Linked DNA regions of Homo sapiens: region 2 is linked to region 1. Evidence: promoter capture Hi-C in human tissues and cell types (Jung and others, 2019). All regions are on one chromosome and are shown on one strand. Each heading gives the region's core, a stretch centred on a gene start or on the middle of the fragment in contact. The rest is flanking DNA. Distances are from core to core; before and after follow the strand shown.

Evidence for each region. The method cuts DNA at HindIII sites, captures the fragments that hold promoters and counts their contacts. A contact is called where the count stands out against the background at its distance.
Region 2: a fragment that was not itself captured here is called in contact with the fragment with the promoter of ICOS in region 1 in 1 of the 25 tissues and cell types used here (psoas muscle).

Annotation. Positions count from the first base shown.
Region 1 is chr2:203,933,863-203,939,072 of GRCh38, reverse strand. ICOS (inducible T cell costimulator) reads right to left here and starts at 2,310. Exons shown (of 5, transcript NM_012092.4): 1 at 2,201-2,310. The coding sequence starts at 2,258. LOC101927840 (a long non-coding RNA gene) reads left to right here. Exons shown (of 4, transcript XR_427213.4): 2 at 1,685-1,756; 3 at 2,872-2,965. The HindIII fragment of the contact is 7,273 bases long and covers 1-4,408 here.
Region 2 is chr2:203,872,504-203,878,216 of GRCh38, reverse strand. CTLA4 (cytotoxic T-lymphocyte associated protein 4) reads right to left here. Exons shown (of 4, transcript NM_005214.5): 4 at 4,252-5,509. The coding sequence ends at 5,405. Among named protein-coding and RNA genes, the nearest start is that of CTLA4, 7.6 kb to the right of the region's middle. The HindIII fragment of the contact is 3,747 bases long and covers 2,087-5,713 here.

The DNA of each region.
Region 1 (5,210 bases), core at 1,061-3,560:
GCATGAGAAAGCCTATGTAAATTGGGAGGATTGAAAATACAACAGAGGACAAGCAAGTACTTAGTTTACTTGAGTTTGGCTCTTTTTCTTTAGAGCTTTTACATGGCAGTTTCTGGATACATGCATTGTGGAGATATTTTAAATAGGATCATTGCTAGCAGATTTATTGTTACCATTTAGCCACTCGTGCCTCAGGTTTGCCACATGCCAAACAGCATGCCACATCTCATGGCTTTCTTTATAATGAGAGTGAACATTGGTTGTATTCATTTAGAATCTACGATGAATATTGTTCCAGAATACAAATTATTCGTCAGCTTAATCTGGAAACTTAAAACAATCCTACCTAAGGCTGGATCTCACCTTCCACAGAATTGACACCGATGCTACTTTAATTCTCCTGAGCATAATACCACAACCAGAACTGCCCAAATTGGTTTGGCCTAGTTGAATGATTTTTATCAATACAAACAAACCCTTCCACGAATGGTACCAACGTTCTTGGAAGAATATCCAAAATCTGGAACATAGACTATATGGTCTGAATGGTCTGGCCTCTACTTTCCTTTCCAGCCTCACCTTGGACCAACTTGGACCAGTTGGTCATCTTGGACCAAGCTCAGCCTCTTCCCTCTTTGTGCTCAGGCACATCTGTCTGCTTTCTTCTAGTTCCCTAACCTTACCTCATTCCTTCCTGCCACAGGCTCTTTGCACTTGTTCCTTCCATGGTATGGAACGTTCTTCCCTACCTTCATACCGTTCTCCCCATTGATTGCTACCTTGTCCTTGAAATCTCCGCTCAAGTGCCACTTGCACAGGAAAGACTTCAATGAACCCTGCTCCTCAGCTACACCTCCACACCCACCCAGTCTAGTCAAGCTCCTTGTTACATTCCCTCATATAATTGAGTTTTGCCTGTAATTATCATTAATCAATGGGATTATTTGATTAATATATCTCTCTCTACCATGCAGTTACCTTCCAAAGAACAGGGGTTGACCTGGTTTTGCTCATCCTTGTACATACACCATCTGGCACAGTACCTGCTACCAGGCAGGTGCTCAATGCTACATGAGTAAATGGATGAATGAAGAATGAATATAAATTCCAAAGCTGCTCATGTCATTCATGCCGCTAAAGGACTTCATGAGATTCTAGAAAAGGCATAAACCAGCAAGTAGCCCAAAACTGTCCTTGTGCTCATTCTACATTCCTCAATCCTCTTAACTGCACTTAACTCACTTTGAGCCAGCACAAGATGAAACATTTGATCAATTTGATTTCATTTTTTTTTCATTTTTTGTAAGAACAGTAAGGTCTATTTTTTTGCCACTGAAAAAATGTATCCCTAGATAGGATCATACCTACTAAAAGTTCTGCCTTCACTTTTAGTTTATTTGATTATTTAAGTTATTTAATATTACTTAACTTTCCTTTTTTCAACCTCAAGAATAGGGCTCAGTGTGAAAGAGAAAACAAAAGTAGTACAAATTATATACAGTAAAAAGCAGCAGAAACACGTGTATTAACTTACATTGTATGTAGCATTATTTAAATTGTCCATATAGAGTCTGCTATATGCCATTCAAGAGAAGGAATCAGGGACTCCAGAATGATCTTTTTTGTAAGGTCTACAGGGGCTAGGAAGTATTTTTACATTATCCTTTCCTCCTTGGCTTTTTAGGGTGAACTCTGATACTTAGTGTCAATAAAAACTCTATGGTGCCCTGGACATTTCAGATAACAGATCATCCAGGTAAGATTAAAATCAAAATCCTTCTTTTCAAAGACTTCCCATTTTATTTTCTACCACAGAAAGAATTCCCAGTCCAAATGCCAGAGCTATTTAATTTTCATTCTGTTGACACAAGTCATTTTGCCTTTCATCTTTCTCTAAGAACAGTAAGCCACTCTGCTAGTTTATCCACTGACAGGTAACTCCAAGCAGGTAATTTAAAAATTTAATGGTCTGATGAAACATGTTTTTCATCTCAAGACACAGTATCAAAGGCAGCAATGCAAACTCAATGCCATCCACAGTGACATGAGTGACATGGTGCCCTTGGCCATATCCTGAAACTATTCCTACTTTCAAAAACCAAAACCACTGTCTTTTGGGTGCGTAATTTTTCTACCTTTGCTTTTTCTTAATGTTTACTTGAATTATAACTTAATAAGAAATATTCAATACACCACTTACCTGTTAAAACTTTAATGCGCAAGCAGAAGAGAAAGAAATACCAGAGGCCTGACTTCATGTTTGCCAGAAACAGTTAACAGTCCTCGCGTTCAGTGTTCAAAGCTGACAGTGAATTCAGGCTCTCGGTTGTTTTCTATTTGCTGGAAAGGAAGTGGGTTTTCTGGGAGTTTATGTAGTGTCACGCTTACCATCAAATCAAGGGGGTGTTTCTTCTTTGATGCCAATGGCTATATGAAAGGCATTATTGCTTATGACATGAGTTAAACAATGCATGGATTATTGATGATTTTGAAGACAGAGGAAAACATTACCCTTATTCTGGTTCCTATAAAACAAGTTAAAGAGATTATGCCTGTATTTTTCAGAACCACCCTACTTCTCTGAATCAATAGTTATGGGGGTTAACAGGACCTAAAAATACTCACATGATGAATAAAACATATATTTTGACACATTTCTATCTTATGCTAGGTGCTCCAGAGATAAGAAAGCCTTTGAAATAGGACAAGAAACAAACAAAATTATTATAGAAATTGAAGTGAAAAGATCTGAAAGAAGAGCATCATAGGAATCTGAGAAATGATATTTATGTGGCATTCATTGTAGATTGCAATGTTTCAAATGATGGGGTCAGTTTTAAACTAACTTAAACCCTGCTCCTCATATTACAGCAGAGTCTGTAGGAACCAGGGATTCCTCACCTACGGCTCAGTGAGACCAAGAATGTTTAAAAGCCTGCCGTGGTCTCCCCATCCCTGCAGGGAGGTAAAGTAGACAATAACAACAATAACAATAATAATTACATAGATAATTATATGTATATGTACTTAAATGTTTTATATGAAATAATATATCTTAATGCAAAATGTAAAAAATTAAATGTAATATATTTTATATATAAAATATACCTATTTTTATATATGAATATAGCTAATATTACATTTATATTATGTTTTATATGCATGTAAATGGTTACTGTTTGTATATATATTTACATTATAACTATAGTTTATACATACATTAACTCATTTAATCTTCTTAATCATCCCAATGGTGACCACTAATCTCCCATTTTACAGATGAGGAAAACTGAGGCACAGACAGGTAACGAACCTGGCCCAAGTCATATAGTAAGTGTCAGTGCTATGATTTAGAGAGTCTGGCTCCAGAGTCCTCACTCTTAACCGAAGCAGGTAGAACCACCAATACCAAGGCCTGCTGATCCCTCCATCCAGAAGTCTGAACGCGCTTCCAAGATGCTAGATCCAGGCTGGACTTCCCTTAGCCTGCAGAAATGACATTTAGATGAGAAGCTGAAATCAGCTGGCCAGGGAAACCAAGGTGTGAGTCCAAAAGGTCCAGGCTCTGAAACAGATTCCAGGTTTGGGGCTTTAGGCCAGCCACTAGGAATGCCAGACCACAGCCAAGGGGTCTGCAAGGTAAGGAGGAGGCTGATCCTGCAGGGATCCCCCTAGCTGCTGAAGCTTCCCCTAGCTACCTTCTGTAGGGCTCCTGGGTCTCAGCAGTGGGTGTGAAGGAAGCTGTTTGAGGGACTGAGCTAGCCTGAGAAGTAGAGCCTGGGCTGCCAGGACCCCTGGGACCTTGCTACCCCAATCTCCTCCCTTTTCACTGTACTCCCCGTAGCATCATGAGGAAAGGCTTCCAGCCCCACCGGCACTGTGCTAGAGTCCTTTCCCAGCACACAGGCAGGCAGTGGAGAACAATTGACTTCTTCCAACCTAGGTGAGGCCTAGCTCTGGAACTGAGTATGGGGAACTTTAACTTCACTTGAGAAAAGCTGTCATAAGTTCTAGAGCTCAGGGCTGTTGCACAGAGAAAAATACAAAGCAGAAACCTAATAATAAATATGCAATGAGGACATAGTGTGTGCCAGACACGGGGCTCCACGTGCATTGTCTGATCCCGTTCTCAAACAACTCAGCGAGGGAGAGTCTGTTACTTATTCTCATTTCATAGATGAGAAAACTGAGAGTTAGAGAGATTCAGTCATTTGCCCGGAGTCACAGAGCTGATGAGCAACGGAGCCTGTTCAAATCCAGACAGTGAAACTCTGGATTCCAAACTCTTAACTACCCCACCACACTCACACACTTATCCTCATTTATTTGGCTAGAAATTACTGGAAGCATTACTTTTTTTGGTCTCCTATTTTCATGGTGGAAGGATACTTAGGTCCTAGAGGAAATTCCAAGATAATTTGAATGCAAAAAAAGATGTCCTGGTCAATTGGAGGTGTAATGTTTCTACCTCAAGGGGAGAAAAGTTGCACAAGTTATGGTTAAATTCAGCTTTAGTTCAACTGGATATGTGTGGTTTTGTTTGATATGTATCTCTTTGCTTTTTCCCAACCCTCTCGCTTCTCAGTTTGTCAGACACTGGGTGGTAAATTGATCCGATAGTGGAGAAGAGCTCACTTCTATGTAAACAATGTTTTATGTCAAAGTCCTGTTTCAATGATCCTTCCCATGCCTCGCCTTCTCAAAAATCTTGGTCAAGAATACAAGTACTTGTGGTTTAAAATATTCAGAACTGCTTTCACGTGCCTGGAAAATTAACTGGGCAAAAATTTCCATTCACCTCACAGGAAGTGCTTTTAGTTTGCTTTTAATTTTTTTTCATTCCATGACTTAAGATGGTTTTGATTTGTGTATGCAGACGCCTGGGGTGAGGGTGGGGCATGGAAAGTTGGTTACATTAAAAGTGTTTTTTATTTCTTGCCTCCTGGGCACCAGAGTTCATCATGCAGCATGCTTGCTTTTCTGAAGGGCCGTAGGTGAATGTCTTTCTTTTGCTTTGCTTGCAACTTACTGAAAGCAACATTTGTCTGAGTAGAGGAGCTCAGACACCAGCATGGTTGAGTCCAAGCAATAGGGTTAGAAAGTAACCCCCAAATATCTAGGCTTCACCTAAGCTTGGTTTGCCATTCTGAAAGGGACAAGCATCAAAAGTGAGAGGTCCTTCCTAATCACAATTGCTTCAACTCCTACCT
Region 2 (5,713 bases), core at 2,711-5,210, 63 kb after region 1:
ACTGCCGGCTTTGCTGACAGACTGTTTATTGGCAGCGTTTTGCTTTGTGTTGTCCGCCTGCAGCATTTTTCTGTAGGATTGCTAAGAACAGGCTGGGTCACCTGAGATGCTTCTCCTAAGTCCTCTGGAAGGGTACAGGAGAAAGAGAAAAGATGAAGCCAACATTGGAGCAGCAACAGTGGTGATAATCACACCGAGATGTAACAGGAGTACTTGGGATGGAGATGGATGGAAAAGTGGGTTTTCTGTGGGTGGCCTGGAGTGGTAGCAGGGACGTCCTAGAAGCAGCCTGGAAAGGACAGCCCCTGGTCAGAAAGGTGCACAGTGCCACCCTCTGCAGAGCCCTGATGTGAAAACCTGGAGATCTGACTTCTTAGCCTAGTTCAAGTCCTGCCTCGCCATAGGACCTTGGACAAGGTCCCTAAAGTCTCCGAGCCTTATGTTCTTCTAAAATCTGAGGATCATTTCCAATATCCTTTGCTAATCATCTATGATGGTAGAATCCTGAGTTAGATCAGAGCTTATGAACTATGGCCTAAAGGCTCTCTGAAGAATTAAAATCCCCAGGCCCTGCCTCAGACCTTATAAGTGAGAAGTTCTGGTTCAGAGGAACTTCAATCTGCACTTTTTCCAAATGCTTCAGATGATTATTGTACGAAATAAATGCAAGAACATAGAGTGTGCCCATGAAAGCAGATTTCCAAGAAGGGTCTGAATGTCAAGTTCCTTGCAATATGCAGCAGGATGGGTTAACTTCCTCTAAGAAAATTGCTTAGAAGAGAAATAGCTACCTCTTCTGCAGGTCTCATTAGCTTCCAGTGACATAGCATCAATCCCACATGTGCCTGGAAGTGAGAACAGGAGATTGTGTTACAGTTGGAACAGTGGTCACAGTCTCAAGTTGTTCTTGCTCAGAAACTTCTGAAGAGGGGTCTCTAGTACACTTTTCTTTTCTTTTTCTTTTTCTTTTTTTTTTTTCTGAGATGGAGCCTTGCCCTGTCACCCAGGCTGGAGTACAGTGGCGTGATCTTGCTCACTGCAACCTCTGCCTCCCGGTTCAAGCGATTCTCCTGCCTCAGCCTCCCGAATAGCTGGGACTACAGGCACCTGCCACCATACCCGGCTAATTTTCATATTTTTAGTAGACACAGGGTTTCACCATGTTGGCCAGGCTGGTCTCAAACTCCTGACCTCAAGTGATTTGTCCACCTCAGCTCTTAAAGTGCTGGGATTACAGGTGTGAGCCACTGCACCCAGCCTCTAGTACACTTTTTATTCACACTGCATTAGAAGCATAAGCTTTCCTGCTGATAGCGTTGTCAGATAAAATACAGGGCATCCTGTTTTCTTGTTTTTGTGGCGTTTTTTGGTTGAATCTGGCAAACTTACCATGAGCCCCTATCCCAGCATGTAGCCAAGGAAACATAAAAGAGGAAAGAATAAATTTTCCTCCCTTTTTACCAATAGGGTGTGTCATGTTTCTGGACTGAACAGAAAAAATTGACCTGAGATGAGAAAAAATATATATATATGAAATAAAACAAGGTTTCTAAGGAGCCTGAGTCATGGCTCTAACCAGGTGCAAACAACAAGTAAGGCAATGGGAATAACTTTCCGGAGAAAGCCATGTTCTCCTTTGCTTTGAGAACTCCCAAAAGAATAACTAAATTTATAAAGTCTTGAACTTCTCAACTGGCTTTGCTCCAGTTAACAACACAGTGACATCAATGTTTCACGAGCTCAGTCCCAACTAAGTTGAATGAACTATTAACTGTGGATACGGAAGAAGGCTCAGACTGGGTATAAAAATATAGTCAATTTTAGCAACAACCAACAATTCAAAAGAGAAAAAGAATAAAAATAAGAATTCAACAAAGAAAGAAAAAGATTGGAAGTAAGACTGGATTAAGATCAAAGTAGAATGAGTGGGACAGAGTAGGCAGCTGGAACTCACAGTCCAGAGTCTTTAAGGTTTAAGCCAAAAGATGAGTAGACCTGCACAAAGTTCTGATGATCAAATGGGAAAGAGATTAAGCTGGGACTGCCTAAGAAAACACAGATGGGTTCTGTATGGAAAACGGTCCTGGATGTCCTAGTTCCCCAACTCCTCAATTCATTTATTGGAGCATCTACTGTGTGCCTAAAGTTGTGATTATCCCTGTCTTGGAGAAGTTCCTGATCTAACTAGGTAGAAAAGACATGCATGCTTGAAATTATTAGAGGTGAAACCAAGTATAGCTATGAAACAAAAGAGGAGAAATCCACGAGCTTAAAGTGTCAGCAAATCTGACGGTGGAGGCAAAATTTGGGATTAGTCTTGATGGGTGTGACAATGAAGGATTATAATATTTGGAGGTGAGAAATGAAGAAATGGGAAGTAGCAGGAATGCGAGTACCATGCTGAAGAAGAGACATGAGCAGAGGCGTGTGCTAGGAGCCATGTTGGAGGAGGAACTGACTCTGGAGCCCCTGGCCACTCTATCCGGCTCCCTTGTCATCCACAGTCTTGCCTGTGACAAGTGGTTCCAAGGAGGAGGGTTGCAACGCCCAGGCTCCCCCTGCATGGTAGGCCAAGCCCCTTTTGGGTTCATGGATTATTTGGGCTTGGAGCTGCCCCAGGACCCTGATCCCAGAAATGGAGATGATGATGAAGGTTGGAATCCCATGTGACAGTTGGTCCTCTGATTTGGGGGCAGTTCACCTCTCTGAGTACTACAGACATAGAATCTTCTCTCATAAATGACATGGGAATTAGAAGAGGCTTTCATTTGGTGCCCAGATGCACTCCCTTACCCTCATATTTGCTTTCTCCCCTTTCAGCGGAACCCCGGGTCATAGTCTTTCTTGTACAATTCTTCTGCCATAGGGGAAGCTTTTTTGAGCTAAAGGGTATTTTATTTTTATAAGATTGAGACTGAATGAAGAGGGCAAGTCTTATCTCAGTGAACAACAAATGGTAGAATTTTAGGCAATAGCAGAGGAAATATTAAGCTTATATAAAGTAGTCCATTATCTAAGGGTGTCTGAAAGGTACCTGGAGGGCATCACTTGTGTAAGGCACTCTCTGTCACTCAGATCTGCCCATCAACTATGAAAAAGAGTAATCTCTCTAAAGATGTTTAGAGGAGTGGAAATGATATACTATCCACTGAGGCTCCTGATTGGTGTTTTTCTTCATGGCTACCATCCAAAGGCCTAGAGAGCAAGAAGCACAGTCTTCCACAGAAAAGGAGCTCATTCTAGGTAATAATCATTACCTTACTTTGAAAGACCTATTCGTTTTTTTTTAACAACCCCTTTTGAAATGCTTACTATGTGCTGTCTTGTGTGTTTGTTAGCACTTGCTGGGGCAAGAAAGAGAGAAAGAGAGCAAGAGCAAGCAAGAGAATGAGCAAGGGGGAGAGACAGAGGAAGAGACACAGACAGAGTTGCCTAAGCAGTGATTCTCAAAACTTGATGGGTATAAGAAGCACTGGGAAGATTTTTGGAAATACAAACTCCTGGCCCCACCACTCAAAGATTCTGATTCAACGCATCTGGGAATAAGTGTGAATTGGTGTTTTTAGTAAGTGACCCAGTGGATTCAGTTACAGGTGGTCCCTGACCACACTGAGAATCACTGCAAAAGACAATAACAGGATGTGGAGGTCAAAAATAGGAAACCTTAAGTGGAAACCAAATGTGCTGAGACTATACATTGGTTAAGCAAGAATCACAGAGGGCTTAGTGTGCCAGGCCTAGGTGTGCCAGCTGATAGCAACATAGGACCACAGGTGTGTGTTTTCCCCACATTTGCAAAATAGTTCATTTGGAAGCCACAGGGAAAAGCTCTATATTTCAGGAAGGCAGATCAAAATGGCTGCAAGGGACGTGGTTGCCAACATTGGGGTTGCCATGACAACTGTAATGCCTGTGATAGTTGAGCTGAGAAAGCAGGCGGTAAGAAAGGGGAGGTGAAGAACCTGTGTTAAACAGCATGCCAATTGATTTATAAAGGACTGCTATGTCTGTGTTAACCCACGTTATATCCCAAATAGTGGTGAAGAAATCAAAAGGAAAGAGGATGGATACCTTCCAAGAATGACTTGCAGGTAATGGCTGGTGCAAAGCTGACTCATGAAGCATTATTTGTCCTTTTGTGGTTTTTCAGTTTGTTTCCAGTATTTCTAATATTGGAGACTCCACCAGATACTGAATGAATCAATCAAAAATTTGAACACAATATTCAAATGCAAGGATGATAAAGACAACTCCGGAAAACGACCACCACAGATTTTTATTTAATTAAAAATATTATACATGTTGTTGCATTTTCATGGAAAATATTGAGTTAAAAACACAAGCAGTGTTAATTTTCAGAAACCTTCATGCACCCCATTCTGCCACCTGCTGCCTTCTTCTGTCCATGGCATTAACCACATGTTTGTAAGAATTGGGCCCATCGAACTGGAGCTTCCTAGAAGGTCATACCTGTGGGTCTCCTGGAGTAAGCCATTGTCTTCAAGACAGTGTTCTGTCAAGTCAACTCAGATACCACCAGCTGTGGCTTCCTTGCAAACCATTGAAAGGAACTGGTGTAAAAGCCCCAAAGCACATGTCAACACCAACTCAGCACAATTCCACGCAATCAAGCACTGCTATGACCTCATCCAGTTTCCAAGCTAGTTAGCAAATGACCTTGTGTTCTACCTGGTGTATTAGTGTCCTGAGCTCCTCCACAAAACTTCCCTGGGACCCAAGGTGGAAAGACACTGCCATATAGTGTTTATATTCAAACCATTAACAAATACACAAAAACATACGTGGCTCTATGCACAATACTATCAAATTAAAATATATATATATATATATATATATATATATATATATATATATATATATATATATATGTATATATGCAATACAACCTTTAGCATCACTGGCTAAAACATAGCCATGTGAGTATTTTTGAAGCCTTGATGTAATCATACATTTGTTTAAGAAATAAAAGGCATAAAATTTAACTTGAAAAGATCATTTCGGCTATAAACGTCTCATACGTAAATATAAGGTGTGTACAATATAGTCTTCTCCCTCGCTCCCTGCCTTTTCCTTCTTTGGGCTGTGCCATTCCCTAACTTAATTCCTTGACCCACATCATAATGCTGCATCCCCATATTAATCCCAAGTGATGCTTTCACTGAAAGTGGAGCTGATGTGACAGAAACATCCCAGCTCTGTCTTTCTACTCCTTTGCTTTAAATTGTAGTACACGTAATTTGGGTTCCGCATCCAACTTTATATTAAAGAGAGATGAATTCCCCCCAAATGCACAAACAAATAAAAATAGCTGGATAGCAAAAAAGTTAGAATTGCCTCAGCTCTTGGAAATTGAAATATGGACTCTCTTCTTCATAATGGTTTCTCAATTGATGGGAATAAAATAAGGCTGAAATTGCTTTTCACATTCTGGCTCTGTTGGGGGCATTTTCACATAGACCCCTGTTGTAAGAGGGCTTCTTTTCTTTAGCTGTCAAACACAAAAAGAAACAGTAATTACTACTGAGGAATACGGAAGCCACTTCTAACCATAATAGAACTCAACACATATTGGGTCCCTAGCTGGTTAAAAATGAATGTTCACAGCATACAGAATTATAAACCTCAGGAGATTTTCTTGATTCAGCTATTAAAATTTATTTTAGATAAATAACTGTGATTTTGATGTTAAATG